Regions from separate parts of the Homo sapiens genome. Here region 1 is linked to region 2. Evidence: promoter capture Hi-C in 16 types of primary human blood cells and fetal thymus (Javierre and others, 2016). All regions are on one chromosome and are shown on one strand. Each heading gives the region's core, a stretch centred on a gene start or on the middle of the fragment in contact. The rest is flanking DNA. Distances are from core to core; before and after follow the strand shown. Region 1 holds the start of OR9Q1 (olfactory receptor family 9 subfamily Q member 1). Region 2 holds the start of PRG3 (proteoglycan 3, pro eosinophil major basic protein 2).

Region 1 (3,679 bases), core at 462-2,961, 640 kb before region 2:
TCCAAATTCTACTCCTCTTCCCCCCTGCCCCAACACGTCTTCGGGTCATGTGTTGGTAGGAAGATGAGCTTCTCTCCAAAAAGGGAGAAAGGAGGCCGGGCGCAGTGGCTCACGCCTGCAATCCCAACACCTTGGGAGGCTGAGCGGGCGGATCACAAGGTCAAGAAATCAAGACCATCCTGGCCAACACGGTGAAACCCCGTCTCTACCAAAAATACAAAAAGTAGCTGGTCATGGTGGCGTGCGCCTGTAGGACACACCCTATAGTAGCACGGCGGGCACCCCAGCTACTCAGGAGGCTGAGGCAGGAGAATCTCTTGAACCCGGGAGGCGGAGGTTGCAGTGAGCTGAGATCGCGCCACTGCACTCCAGCCTGGCGACAGGGCAAGACTCCGTCTCAAAAAGAAAGGGTCATTTACGGAGCCCCTCCCATGGGCTAGATTCTGATGGGCTGATACCATCTGGCTTAATCCCCACAATATTGTACTATGATCCTATGAACTATTCTTGATATAGAGGTGTTATTTGTCTTGGTTTTCACGCAATTGAAATCACTGAAGGCTCAGAGAGACAGTAAGTAAACTTGGGCAAGATCAAAGAACTACATGGCACAGAGAAGAGCCAAACCCCAGAGCTTCTGACAAAAAAAGCCTCCACACCGTGCCATTTTCCTCTGCCATCTCATTTCACCCAATGACAACGTGCCTGCAACCCTGGCTCCCTGCCCTGACTCTGAGGTTAATTTCCCTGCAGCTCGGAGCCCCGCCAAGGCTGGAGGAATATCCCACAGGCTCCAGTGAGCTGCAAAGCACAGTCACACTCCCAGGGCTATTAACAGCATCCGCTTCCTCTCCAAGGTTCAGGGAACTTTATCCACCAAGTGCCATGCAGGAAAAAAGAGGTCAGCCAGAGAGGAGAGGGTCACACGGGGCAATCACTAAATAAGGAGAAAGGCCGCACAGGAACTTGGCCCAATTTGGTGTCCTCAAAAGACGGTGCTCCCTGGCCAAGATTTTCCCTAACAAATATGGAAAAACAGTTTGAGGCCCATGCACGAAAATTGAAACTTGGTTCCTGTAGCTATTTGCTTGTGTAGCTACGTGACAAGCCTGGTGAGAAACGCTGGATTTCTCCCTCTTTCAGTTCTCTCCACCTGGCATCTGGGGGCCTAGTCCCAAAAAGTGAAAGGAACTGGAAAATAAACTTACTAAGATCCAGGAAATGATTTCAAAAAAAAACAGCCAACAAACCGAGGTGAGCAGGCGCAGTGGGTGGGTGTTATGAGACAGACAGCGGGGCTAGGAGATGCCCAGGATGAAGCCCGGAGACCTGCTCTCTGATTCCTCTTGGGTCTAGCTCATCACAGCCTGCTTCCCCACTCCCACTGCAACGTGACAGCAACAGCACATCTCACTTTCCAACATGCAGACAGCCCCCTGTGTTAACAGCACCGTCTCTGAAATCAGTGGAGCTGCATTTGACCCTACCTCCGTCAGGCCGTAGCTGTGAGTTTGGGAAAGGCGTTTGATCTTTCTGAGCCTCAGTGTCTTCATCTTCAAACGGGAAGGATAACATGTACATTGCTGGGCTGGACTAAAGATGGAAGGAGACATCATTAAGGGAAAGTTAGGGCCTTTGCTCCTTTCGCTCCCTCTACCATCTCTGTGTGGCATCCTCCTGCACTTCTTCAATTCCCTGCACAAGGGCCACCTTAACAGAGAGGCCCTTTCTGACCACCTATCTGAAAACGCAGTTCCTTTCACTCTCTGACCCTCTTCTCAGTTTGATTTTTTGGGTCACAGCTTCATTGCCATCTGGTAGATATTTATTTGTTTGTCTATAACATCACGCACACACACACACACACACACACAAAAGGAAGCTCCTTGAAGATAGTGCCTTTGTTTGTTTGTTCATTACTGTGTTGCTAATGCCAAAGTCACTGACATGTAGTCTACATGCAATAAATATATACTGATGTAATAAAAGGGTGGCTGCATGCTCCTGATTGTACGTTGGCAGCGTACTTAGTTTCCTTTCCATTTCTAGCTACCTGTTTTTAAGGAAATTTAAGGAAAAGGAAGTTCAACAATACTTACAGAAAAGTCAATCAATTTGGGTGTTGTCCATGCAATTACTGTCAACGGACTACAAGACTGACAATGCCTGCAGGAATGATGTCTTGTATATCTGGAGCAGCCTGCTCTCATGGCCTTGGGTGGGAGGCAAATTGAATTGATTTCTACATATAATTTCTTTTTCTTAGCTACAGAATTTAATTCTAAATTTCCCGGAAAGCTGTACTCTATCAGCTGTTTTCAAACTCTGTTCCACCAAGCCCTAGGTTTGCTTAGTTGCCAGGTAGCTGGGAAGAGGAAAGGACCTAGTATGTGGGGCTCTCAAAATCCCTGCTTCAACCAGCTAGTAAGTGACAGAGTCCAGATGAGAATCCAGCCCAGTCTGACTCCAGAGCCCACCATCTTTCCATCATACCACCTCCCCAGGGAGGGTGATATTCCTAAAATAAAATCTGATCAATTAACTGGGCGCTTCTCTCATTATTCCAGGACTTCAATACTGAGCAGATACAATCTGTTCCTCAAAGCTACTGACATATAGTCTGCCTATGATGGGAACAAATGGGAAACTGAGGTATAAGAAAATAAGTGGGAGGCTTCTCCAGCCATATATGTGACAGAGACCCCAGACCCAAACCAAGCCAGAGAGTCCACTATAGCAGACAGGAACCAAGGTGAGAATCAAGCTTTCTGAGCTTCTAGCTCTTAATCTCTAGGCAGCAATAATATCTATTCTTGTTGTCTCTCAGAACATTCTGTGAATTGATGAGATAGTGGATGTGCGGGTTCTTTGAAACTTTAAAGGTACACTCTGGTAAAACCTGCTTACTCTTTTGCTTCTATTGCTTATGGACTATGCGATGACCACAGAATTTCAATAAAGGGACAGCATGGGAATGGCCATCTGGTGGGACTCTGGGAATGGTCATGAAGCTGCCCTGGAATAACAAAAGCAAATTGATTTTGTTTAGATTGTAGGTTTGAGGTGGCTTGAGGAGGCAGATGGAGATGAAGGAGAACTAAAACCCCACAAAGTCCCTCGGCACCCCTACTCTATAAGAGCTTAAGCAAATCAGTTGAATTCTGTGTGCCTCCATTTTCTCACTTGAAAACTGAATTGATATTTAAAACCACAATGACTCTGTAAAAGAGCTTTTGGGCCGGGTGTGGTGGCTCATACCTGTAACCCCAGCACTTTGGGAGGCCGAGGTGGGTGGATCACTTGAGGTCAGGAGTTCGAGACCAGCCTGGCCAACATGGTGAAACCCTGTCTCTACTAAAAATACCAAAACTAGCCAGGCATGATGGCATACACATGGTAATCCCAGCTACTCAGGAGGCTGAGGCAGAATTGCTTGAACCCAGGAGGTGGAGGTTGCAGTGAGCCGATATCACACCACTGCACTCCAGCCTGGGTGACAGAATGAGACTCTGACTCAAAAATAAATAAAATAAATAATTTTTTTTAAAAAAAAAAAAGAGGTTTTGAACAACAAAAAATGAGATTACAAACTGGGAAAACTCTGAAGAAAAGATTGGGCTATACCAAAGTCAGGAATCATACCTCTAGATTTGGTATCCATTTGATTGATAACATTCCT
Region 2 (3,831 bases), core at 355-2,854:
AATTTCTTAGTGTCCCCTTAATTTCTTAGTGTGTCTGAGTTGAGAGCCTCCCCTGCCTGATTCTAGTCCAGACCCTGGGGTGACAGAAGACTGGTGGGAGATGGGAGGTGAGGAGGGGAGTGTTGGTTGGAGAGGATGATCTACAGAGTGCTGGAGAGACTCTGTATGGAGCTTTTCATGCTGCCTGTTTGCCAGCCCTGAAGCTATGCCTTGAGGTTGGGCAAGGTGGCATATCCTAGATCAGAGATCCTCAACTGGGGCCATTTTTCTCCCCAGAGGACATTTGGAAACATGTGGAGACATTTTTGATCATCTGCGGGGGTGGGGAGAGGGGCTACTGACATCTGGTGAGTAGAGACCAGAGGGACCATTAAACTTTCTACAACGCCCAGGACAGCCCCTCCACAATAAAGAGTTATTTGACCTCACATATTAATAGCACAAAGTTGAGGAACCTTGATCTAGATCCACAGCACAGAAGAAAGGATGTAGATTTTTCACACATTAAAGATGAGAAAGCTTGTGCCTGTAATCCCTGTGACTCAGGAGGCTGTGGCAGGAGGATTACTTGAGCCCAGGAATTCAGGGTTACAGTGAACTATCATCGCAGCACTGCACTCCAGCCTGGGTGACAGAGCAAGATTTTGTCTCTTAAAAAAAAAAAAGATGAGGACAGGCACAGTGGCTCATGCCTGTAATCCCAGCATTTTGGGAGGCCGAAGTGGGTGGATCACGAGGTCAGGAGTTCAAGACCAGCCTGGCCAGCATAGTGAAACCCCATCTCTACTAAAAATACAAAAAATTAGCCAGCTACTTGGGAGGCTGAGGCAGGAGAAGCGCTTGAACCCGGGAGGTGGAGCTTGCAGTGAGCCAAAATCTTGCCATTGCACTCCAGCCTGGGCGACAGAGCAAGACTCCGTCTCAAAAAGAAAAAAAAAAAAGATGAGAAAGAGGAAGGGAGAGAAAAAAGAGAGAGAGGAAAGAAAGAGAGAAGGTTTTGGAGTCAAAAAGACTTAGAAATTCCAGTTCTTCCACTTCCCATGGAACCTTGGCAAGTTGCCTTCTCTCTTTCTCTGAATCTCACATTTTGCCTCTGTGAAGTAGGGGTGGTACCTGGTGGAGATGATGCGGAGATGAGGGTGAGGGGTGTGTTGCACACTATGCCCCTAGGATGGGTGAGAGCTTGGGAGCACTGAACCTCCCTTTCCCCTCTTGTTTCTTCCCCCCATTGTCTCCCACCAGCTCCCTGGGATCTCCACTTCACTCTCTGGGATTCCACCAGCAGGAGGCTACTCCTGGAGTTAAGGCGTGTTGTTCAGACTGGGGCATTTTAGGGGGCATAAATAATAATTATGCCTGGACAATGGACATAACATCTAGGGCCTTCTGAAGCAAACCAGGGTGTGGGGTACCCAAACAAGGCAGTAGGCCCCAGGAGGCAGGTCCCTGCAGTCCCAGCAGAGAGCAGGGCACAGGGTTGAGAAGACTGAGCAAACTTCATTATCAGCTCCTTTGTCCCCCACTCTGTCCTGGAGCAATCATTCTGGCCTCTTCCCACTTCCCCAAAAACCCAGTATAAAGGCTGCTTCTGGCCCCTGAAGCCAGAGGCACTGAGAGTGGAGGTCTCAGACTCTTGGAAGGTGAGTTCTTTTCTGGCTGCCCAGGCAGGACCAGTGTAGGCCCTGGGAAGAAGCAGCACCTCATAGGGCAAACACGTAGGAGGCCTGTCCTTAGGAACATCATAGCTAAGCAGACCTGTCCCCGCAGGGGCAGGAGTCTGGGCTAAGGGTGATACTGGAGAGCAGCAACGGAGACTGGAAGACAAATGAAATTTGGTACCTGAGTTATCCCTCCCACCATTCCTTTTCTAGACTCTCCAGCTCAGGGTCTGTTCATGGCAAGAGGAGAAAGCAATCTTGTTTGCTCTTTAATCAAACAATTAAACAAATATTCCCTCTATACTATGTGCCAGGGGCTATACTAGACACACAAAGACAGCCCCAAGAAGGACGGTGGAGTAGTGTCCTCGCTAAAAGACAGTAGATATGCAATGCCTCTTGCTCCTGCCCTTTCTCCTGCTGGGAACAGTTTCTGCTCTTCATCTGGGTAAGTCTCTCCCTTCCCTCCTCATGCGTCTTTCCCTTTTTTCCTTTTTCCTACACTCCCCTCCCCCCGCTTTTATTTGCACTCATGAGGCCAGGACCACAGCCTTCCCTCTTTAGCTGATACAGCTCATCTCCGGTAAGATATCACTTGGACTCAGAACTGTAACCTGGAACTTTCTCTTTTTTGTTTGATTTTTTTTTGTTGTTGTTGTTTTTGTTTTTTTTTTTGTTTGTTTTTTGTTTTGTTTTGAGACGGAGTCTCGCTCTGTTGCCCAGGCTGGAGTGCAGTGGCGCGATCTCGGCTCACCACAAACTCCGCCTCCCGGGTTCAAGCAATTCTTCTGCCTCAGCCTCCTGAGTAGCTGGGACTACAGGCACATGCCACCACGCCTGGCTAATCTTTGTATTTTTAGTAGAGATGGGGTTTCACCATATTTGCCAGGCTGGTCTCAAACTCCTAACCTTGTGATTCGCCCGCCCCGGCCTCCCAAAGTGCTGGGATTACAGGCGTGAGCCACCGCACCCGGCAAACTGTAACCTGAACTTTCAGAAGGAAAAACCACCCACCTGTTAAGATGAAGGGCTGGTGACTGCCCCAGGCTTCTCACACGTGCTTTCTCCCACCTTCAAAACACACACTCGTGGTGTCGGCCAGAAGTCAGGTTCTTGTCCATTTGTGGGTGTGACCCGAGAGATCTCTCCTTACCTAACACCAAGGAAATCCTCCAGTCTTGTCTTCAGGTGGAATTCCTAGGAAAGCTCGAGCGACGTTGCTGGAGCTGTCCACGGTGCTGGAACTAGGAAGCTCTTGACCTGATGGCAGGTTACCTCTTCTTCCCAGAGAATGATGCCCCCCATCTGGAGAGCCTAGAGACACAGGCAGACCTAGGCCAGGATCTGGATAGTTCAAAGGAGCAGGAGAGAGACTTGGCTCTGACGGAGGAGGTGATTCAGGCAGAGGGAGAGGAGGTCAAGGCTTCTGCCTGTCAAGACAACTTTGAGGATGAGGAAGCCATGGAGTCGGACCCAGCTGCCTTAGACAAGGACTTCCAGTGCCCCAGGGAAGAAGACATTGTTGAAGTGCAGGGAAGTCCAAGGTGCAAGATCTGCCGCTACCTATTGGTGCGGACTCCTAAAACTTTTGCAGAAGCTCAGGTAAGTAGTAGGGAGGCTACTGCGGAGGACCTGGGGGAAAAGAGAGTACATTCAGTCTTCTGTTCCCTATTCATTTAGGCTAGTGGTTCTCAAAGCCTCGCATGCATCAGAATCACCTGGAGTTGTTGTTAAAACACAGCTTTCTGGGCCTCACCTGCACGACTTCTGATTTAGGAGGGCTGAGGTGAAGCCTGAGAATTTGCATTTACAACAAATCCCCAGGTGATGATGATATTGTTGGTCTGGGGAGAACCACCGATTTAAACAAAAGGCTTTGGTGTTAGAAACGCCTGTGTTAAATTCTGGTTCTGCCTTTTATTAGCTGTGTTACCTGGGCAAGTTGCTTTGCCTTTCAAAGCTTTAGCACCTTCATTTGTAAAACGAAGATATATAGCACCAACTTCTTAGAGTTGTGGTGAGCATTAAATGAGATAATACATGAAAAGTGTTTGGAATAGTCACTGGGCTGTAATAAACTCTCAATAAGCGGTGGTTATAATTATTATGAGTATTATCATTTCCTGTAGGATTGTCCTGACAGCTAATTAAGAAGCAAAAGATAGGATTAAGG

What was found. Contacts are between HindIII fragments. The CHiCAGO score rates a contact against its expected background, and 5 or more counts as called.
Region 1: a contact is called between the fragment with the promoter of OR9Q1 here and the fragment with the promoter of PRG3 in region 2, in 2 of 17 cell types (non-activated CD4 T cells and fetal thymus). The highest score is 6.8, in non-activated CD4 T cells.

What each region holds. Positions count from the first base shown.
Region 1 is chr11:58,021,913-58,025,591 of GRCh38, reverse strand. It overlaps OR9Q1 (olfactory receptor family 9 subfamily Q member 1), which reads right to left and starts at 1,711. Exons shown (of 3, transcript NM_001005212.4): 1 at 1,488-1,711. LOC107984331 (a long non-coding RNA gene) reads left to right here and starts at 1,173. Exons shown (of 3, transcript XR_001748218.1): 1 at 1,173-1,505; 2 at 2,568-2,752. The HindIII fragment of the contact is 4,257 bases long and covers 1-2,766 here.
Region 2 is chr11:57,378,923-57,382,753 of GRCh38, reverse strand. PRG3 (proteoglycan 3, pro eosinophil major basic protein 2) reads left to right here and starts at 1,604. Exons shown (of 6, transcript NM_006093.4): 1 at 1,604-1,640; 2 at 1,973-2,106; 3 at 2,947-3,260. The coding sequence starts at 2,046. RefSeq lists an enhancer at 2,216-3,415. The HindIII fragment of the contact is 3,099 bases long and covers 522-3,620 here.